Regions from separate parts of the Homo sapiens genome. Here region 1 is linked to region 2. Evidence: promoter capture Hi-C in 16 types of primary human blood cells and fetal thymus (Javierre and others, 2016). All regions are on one chromosome and are shown on one strand. Each heading gives the region's core, a stretch centred on a gene start or on the middle of the fragment in contact. The rest is flanking DNA. Distances are from core to core; before and after follow the strand shown.

Region 1 (3,484 bases), core at 176-2,675, 1.1 Mb after region 2:
AATTAGCATTTGATGCTAAATGTTGGGAAATTTGGGGCAGGTAAACTCTAAAGTGGATTGGAATAGGTAATTTCTAGTAAGGTGGAAGCAGGGTGGATAGGATGAAATGATTAAAAAATGAGAACTACTATGAGTTAGAGTTGTATCATTTCTCCATATAACTTGAATCTTTATACTTCAAACATTTGCACATTACATGTATATTTGTACATATAACACATACTTGTATATATATTCCCTATTACTATAATAGTATTTATTAAGAATAATGATGAATATTGTGCCGGGGAGTCCTCTAATTATGGCTTAAAAAGAAATCTTTCAGCTTGGGCAACATGGCGAAACCCCATCTCTACAAAAAAATACAAAAATTAGCTGGGTGTGATGGTGCACGCCTGTAGTCCCAGCTACTTACTGAGGCAGGAGATCGCTTGAACCTGGGAGGTCAAGGCTACAGTGAGTCGAGATTTCACCACTGCACTCCAGCCTGGGACACGAAGTGAGACCCTGTTTCAAAAAAAAAAAAAATTTAACAGAGTAAGAACCTATACTTTAACTGGAGGGCGATGTGAGGAGTCAAAATAATTGATTAATCAATTATGTCCTCAGCATTGAAAGTCATTGTTTTTGTCTGGAGATGTGTAAAACGTACACTTTGATCTCCAGTTGTTTATAGTCTACTTGGGAATATAAATCTAACAAGAAATATGTAATAACAATAATAACAGCTAACATTGTTGAGTACTGTGTACCGGGCATTGTACTGAGTACATTATATAAATTATTTTACTTAATCCTCATAACCATCAGAGTAGGAAGATTTCATCTTTTTTCCCTCTTTTTATAGTTGGAACTGAGGCTTAGATGTGTGCAAATAAGTGGCAAGGTTCAGATTCAAAATCAGCTAAATTTTATTTGAAGCCTAAAACACTTAACCCACCTACCTTTTATCTACTAAGCCTGTTAGTTCAAAGATTACCTGAAGGTAAATTTTATCAGGCCAGCTTTGGATCTGGGGGGAAAAAATGAAGGTAAATTTTAACTTGAATCGATCTAGACTGTTTATAATGGAATCTGTTGCCTAGCATAAGTTAAGCATGTTGAGGTCACAAAGGATAAGAAATTACCCTTAAGGGATGAAAATTCTTTAGAATAGAATGCAGTAGGCCCACGCAAACAACAACGTGTATAAATAGCTTAAATTAGCCTGTTTTTGCCTAAGTACATTAACTCAAAAGGAAACTCGGTTTAAGAAGTTCACTCCAAAAATAGTGCAAGAAGCATCACTGGTCCATAAAGAGGGGTGGAGTGGGTTACGTCATTTCAGCACCTTTTAAGGTAAAGGAGGAGGGAATCCTCTTGAACTCATTAGCCAATCAGGTTCTGAAGACACTTCCCAAGGCGACTTCCTGTCTCTCCACTTTCTTTCCCTCTCCGTTTTGGTGGGCTGGTGAGTGTGCGCTTAATTTTGCTCTCTAATTGTTTTGAATTTCTCTTCCATTTGAGTTATATACCCAGGTGGCAGGCCTTTATTTCAAGTCGGCATAGGAGTGTGTGTGAGTCGCAAGGAGATTAATTTCGGCTGTGTGGAGGTTGGGAGAAGGCAGTGAAATGCTCTTCCTGGCTTGTTTCCACGTGGGCCTCTGCAGTACTGGGTTTGCCTTCCGTCTCCGAGTCCTGGTGACCCAGGAACAATAGACTGTGCTTCATGTGCACAGTGCGTGTGTTCTTGGAAAACGCCGGCTTCATTTTGCTTGGCGGGAAAGATATTATCATCCTAATGCTGTTTTGATTTATATCTCCCTGGGTGAGGTCAGATTTCGGGAGAAGGCGTTCAGCTCAGTAGAGTTTAATTCTCCGGTGAGTGTCTAGAGGGCCCAGGTCCTTACTGGGTTTGTGGAAGCTGCAGCGTACCTTGTCTTTCTCCTGGCCTTCGCTCAGATCATTTCGGCTTTCTTGGTGAACCTGGGCAGCAAACTCTGAAGACAGATAAGCCTTAAAAGGAGCTCCTAATTTTTAATGTTGCCACTGTGGTGATTGTGTCCTTAAAAGCTATGGAAAAAGATTAGGGACCTTAGTTCAGGGCAAGCCTCTAGATTTAAATTCCAGCGCCACAGTTTACAGCTCTGGTGACCTTGGGAGAAGCAGTGAGCCATTCCGAGGCTTAGCTTTCCAAGATCAGATAAAATATATAAAAACTAGGCTCTAGTTGGTGTGTAATAAATGTTAGGTACCTTTAGAAGTAAGCAGTACTTATTTATTTACAGCAAGTATTTTGGATATCTGTTTTCTCATAAAAAGTTTGCTTAGTGACCTTCAATGTCATTTCACTGAATTCCTTTCTTTTGGTACATGTTAATTTTAATGTGATGTTTGTGTTGGATATTCTTATAGGCAGAAAGTGTGAGAAAGACAAATAATAAACCAGTTAATCGAATGTAGTAATAGGTATTTGTAGGCCTCCCATAATTTTTATAATTCTCAAGCATTGTTAAAATTTATTTTTTGGGGCATGGCGGCGCATGCCTGTAATCCCAGCTACTCGGGAGGCTGAGGCAGGAGAATCGCTTGAACCCGGGAGGTGGAGGTTGCGGTGAGCCGAGATCGCGCCATTGCACTCCAGCCTGGGCAACAAGAGCGAAACTCTGTCTCAAAAAAAAAAAAAAAAAAAAAAAAATATATATATATATATATATATGTATACACATCATATATATATATATTTTTGAATAGGTAATACATTCACATGGTTCAAAATTCAAAAGATATCAAAGTTTCTTATCCCCTTCCCTAAGCCATCCAATTCCTCTCCCTCATAACAGTGTTACTAAGATATTTTATGCATATAAGCAAATATGTGTAGGTATCCTTCCCTTTTACTATACCTACTCTACTATGTGTCTTACTTTTTCCACTTAAGTTCCATGAGTAGAGTGTTCACATTCTTCATAATGGTAACATAGTATTCTTTAAAAATTATTTTTTTTAAAAAATATATTTTTTCAGTAGGTTTTCAGGGTATAATGGTAACTCAGTATTCTAATTTATGTACCTACTATAATTTATTTAGCTTTTATCAGTAGGTATTCAGATAGTTTATGATCTTGATATTTCCCCCTCAAATGAATAACCTTGTAAATCAGTCAGTTGGCATAAAGGCATTTCAATTGGGTTTTGGTATATTCTTGTTTAAAAGGACTCTAGATATTTTGCAGTGCTTCCTATTTATATTTATTTTGTACACGGTGGTGATTAGAAACCAATCAATACTCTAAACTTGATTGAGCAATAAAGGATTTTCTACCGAAAGGAAAATCATCTTGATGGCTTTTATGTGAATATATCTTTGCCCACTTTGGTTTGAGTGGGGATGGTTTATCTTGTTATGAGCATGTGTTTAATGCTGGGAAGGAGTGACAGCAGTGGCCCAGAACAACCAAGTCATCTTTGTATTCACAGGGGCAGAAAGGGCATGCTTTCAGTG
Region 2 (3,456 bases), core at 177-2,676:
AGGATTGGGTGGGCAGGGGAACTCCTAAAATAATACATGACCACTTCCTCATTTCTGGGGAAGGAAAGGAGACTAGAGCAGCTGGTGTGCTCACCCCTCCCTAGTCACCTCCATTAACCACAGACTATGTAGCGCTGGCCCTAGCCTCTGGCAGAGCCTGTTCCTGGCCGAACTGTGGATACAGCTGGAGGGTCAGGAACTGTTACCTTCTTTCCCCTTGGCATTAATAAATTTAAGTTAATCCTTTTCCACTCTTCCTTTGTTCTATGTTTGCTCAAACCCAGTGTATTGATTTTGAGTTGTTAATGGTGGGTAATTTCAGCACCACTTTCCTTAAGTTCAATACTGTTTATACTAAATTGCCTTACAGCAGACAAGTCATCTGTACTCCTCTAAAGGGTATATACAAATGTAGACTGTCCAGCTGGCTAAAGGCAAGGGAATTATTTAAGGTAAATGGTAGGTAGGCAAACTTCTGGATTCAAACTCCAAGTTTTTAGAAGAGACAGGGAGCAAGAATGTCATCAGGAACCATTTATGTTTTGTTTCTAATTAACTGAAGTAACGGTTATTTGGGGGAAGCCATAGAATAGTGCCAGTTTTCATGAACTGCAGCAAGGGGACTGGCCGACTGGAAGGATGCTGCCGCGACTTGGGCTCAGGGGGTGGGGTTGTGGGAAGGAACTAAAAGTTTGTAGAGCCCCTCAAGTCATCTGTTTCCTCTGACTTACACCATCCCACTGCTCAGTTAAAGCTTGCGCATATTATTTTCCTTTCGAAAACTAGGTTCCTCCCCCAGCTTGGGTCGTAGTTTATCACGAGGCTGGGCTCCATTTCCCTGGTATGAGTCCTCTGTCCCGGCGGAGCGCTTGACCCAGCATCCTGGCACCGAGGATCCCTCGAGTCCTGGAGCAGTCAAGGGCTTTTGCATTCCCATCATTTCTAGGAGGGGCGCATGCCCAGTTACACTGTAGTAGTCCCACTTTTATCCCACGCTAGATCCCGCTCTTTCCGCTCCCCCTTCCTTTGCAGATGGGGTGGAGCTATAACACCCGCGCGCGGCAGCTCTTGTGGGCGGGGCAGGCGCCGCCTCCTTCGCTTCGTCTAGGGACTGCCGCCTCGGCAAAAAGTCTGAGGTCCTGGAAACCGCCGCTGGGCTGAGAGTTAATAAGGGCGGAGGCAGACCGTCACGTGACGACGTCGATTCGCGTGCGGCAGTGGCGAAGTTGACAAACCCCGCGAAAATCGACTCTTTGCATCGCACATTTTGTTGATTTTCCCTCGTTTTTCTTTCTCTCTTTCCCCCGTCCATCCGAAAGAGGGTTGGAAAAAAACAAAACAAACAAACAAACAAAAAAAAAACCTAACGCTGTTGGGACCCGGAAGCGGAAAGGGCATCTTTGAGGTCGATACTTCCGGGTCATTGGGAGAGTGCGGGATTCCTGGGCCGAGAGCGGGTGGCTGAGCCGGGACCTCGCGTGATTCTCGGAACCCGAGGAGAAGCGGCGTCCGGGGCTATGGCTGTGACTCTGGACAAAGACGCTTATTATCGGCGAGTGAAGAGACTGTACAGCAATTGGCGGGTGAGGAAGATCCTGTAATTTTTCCTAGGGAGCCCCCTTAGCCATCCCATAATAACCCTGTTTCTCGGCGCCCTTTTTTCTCTTTCGGTCAGGAATTCCCGGGTTCTGTGCCTCACCCTTTTCGTTGCTCCCGAATCATTCACCGGAGGCGGCCACGAACGCTGCCCCTTAACAGGGAATCCCCCGCATTCACCCTGTCCTGCGGCCATCACCATCTTCCCCGCGTGCCAGCCTTGGTCATGCATAGCAGCACCTCTCGCAGTCTCTTCCCGCCCTAGAAGAGGCAACATCCTTCCCTCCTACTCCGTGGTCACGTCTTGCTGCCCTCCCCTGCCGTGTTCTCACGCACTCGCTCTGTCCCTCCAGAACCACAATATTCCACCCCTGGTCCCGCCAGGATTATAACCGTCTTCGTAAAGGAGAGATGGAAGGGCAAGGAGGATGTCAATCGGGCTTTTAGCGTTTATCGTTTGCGGGGCTTTTGCTGGAGTTAAAAAAAGAAATACTGCTCACGCGCAACCGCCTCATGTTCTAGGCCCTGCTGTGGGTTACAGAGAGGGACCTAACGCTGAAAGCCTGCAGGCATTAGTAATAACAAAACAAAACAAAACGATGCCTAAAACCTTATTAGTTCCTTGGTAGCGTATCCGGGGCACGTGTTCATTAAAAGAGCTGTGGCAGTTCCCAGTTTTTTAAAGATTCGGCAGTTTTGCTGCTCTAAAAACGTCCACAGTTAAAACTTATTTTTATGATGTTAACTTACTAATTGAGCAAACATTTGGTTGCATTCTGTGATGCAGTCTGAGTTGGCTAGCTTAAGTCTTGCCCCTGAACCCTGTCATCAAGGGAAGATACAGCTAATAAAGATTTTTTTTTAACCTGAAAAACGTTTTGAGAAAAATGATCAGCTCTCATTTCAGCATTGTAAATTATCTTTCAAACTGGTCATCTACTAAAACCAAGCCATTAAAATTGGTCGTTTCCTTGCCATTCATATTAAAGCTGTCTGTGCATGTTTCATCTTTTGGGGCTAAATACATTAGATAATTGAAAATAAAATTGATTCTCTTGCATTTTATGAAAAGGAAAAATAAGAACTAAATGCTAGATGAATACTGAACATTTTATTTTTTTTAATTTTTTGATTAATTTCTACCAAATGATTTTTTGCAGCTTCTCTCAGTGTCATATTATTCAAACATAATCGATGTTAGAAAAACATTTTAAAACCTTGATACTTTCTAATGATCAGTAAGTACTAAAAATCCGAAGCCCTCTCTTGTACCCATAAACCCTGAAACTGTGAACCTTTGGTATGAAAATTGTTTCTAGTCCCAGTGATTCAGATTCATCAAATAATTTCATTCTCTCTATACCATTCATGAAAACTAATCTATAGCTCTCACTTCCTCTACATGACAAATTAACTGTGGCCTGAAGACAGGTTGGCAAACCTAATAAAACTGATAGTCTTTAAATCCATGAAAGTTATTTCCCACCCACCATTTTTTTTTGTATCTCAAAAATCTTTAAAGTTTATCTTGGCCCTCTTACTACCTTAATGACATCATCTTGGGAGAATGTTAGATATTGATAAGACACTGATGGTGTAAAGTTATGAGCCAAATCTATGTAAAAATGTACCAGTTAACAAAACCTGTGGCTATTATGAAAAACTTACTTGAATAAGACTTTCTGCTTTTGTGTTAATGTGTCCAGAACCCACCTGTAGAAGTTCTTTGTGTATGCAGTCTTTTCACCCTACAGTGCTTTCATTCTGATACACTTAATCAGAGATAGTAGTTTTCTGGGTTAAATCTAGTCGCTTATCCTCCTGGATATAGCAGAAAGATAGTGGGATATATAGGTGTGT

Evidence for each region. Contacts are between HindIII fragments. The CHiCAGO score rates a contact against its expected background, and 5 or more counts as called.
Region 1: the fragment with the promoter of CCNB1IP1 here is called in contact with the fragment with the promoter of SUPT16H in region 2 in 1 of 17 cell types (monocytes); the score reaches 7.4 in monocytes.

Annotation. Positions count from the first base shown.
Region 1 is chr14:20,331,220-20,334,703 of GRCh38, reverse strand. CCNB1IP1 (cyclin B1 interacting protein 1) reads left to right here and starts at 1,425. Exons shown (of 7, transcript NM_021178.5): 1 at 1,425-1,450. RefSeq lists an enhancer at 1,346-1,655. The HindIII fragment of the contact is 11,464 bases long and covers 1-3,484 here.
Region 2 is chr14:21,381,989-21,385,444 of GRCh38, reverse strand. SUPT16H (SPT16 homolog, facilitates chromatin remodeling subunit) reads left to right here and starts at 1,426. Exons shown (of 26, transcript NM_007192.4): 1 at 1,426-1,583. The coding sequence starts at 1,518. It overlaps CHD8 (chromodomain helicase DNA binding protein 8), which reads left to right. Exons shown (of 38, transcript NM_001170629.2): 38 at 1-246. LOC107984643 (a long non-coding RNA gene) reads right to left here and starts at 1,172. Exons shown (of 2, transcript XR_001750627.2): 1 at 732-1,172. The HindIII fragment of the contact is 3,293 bases long and covers 757-3,456 here.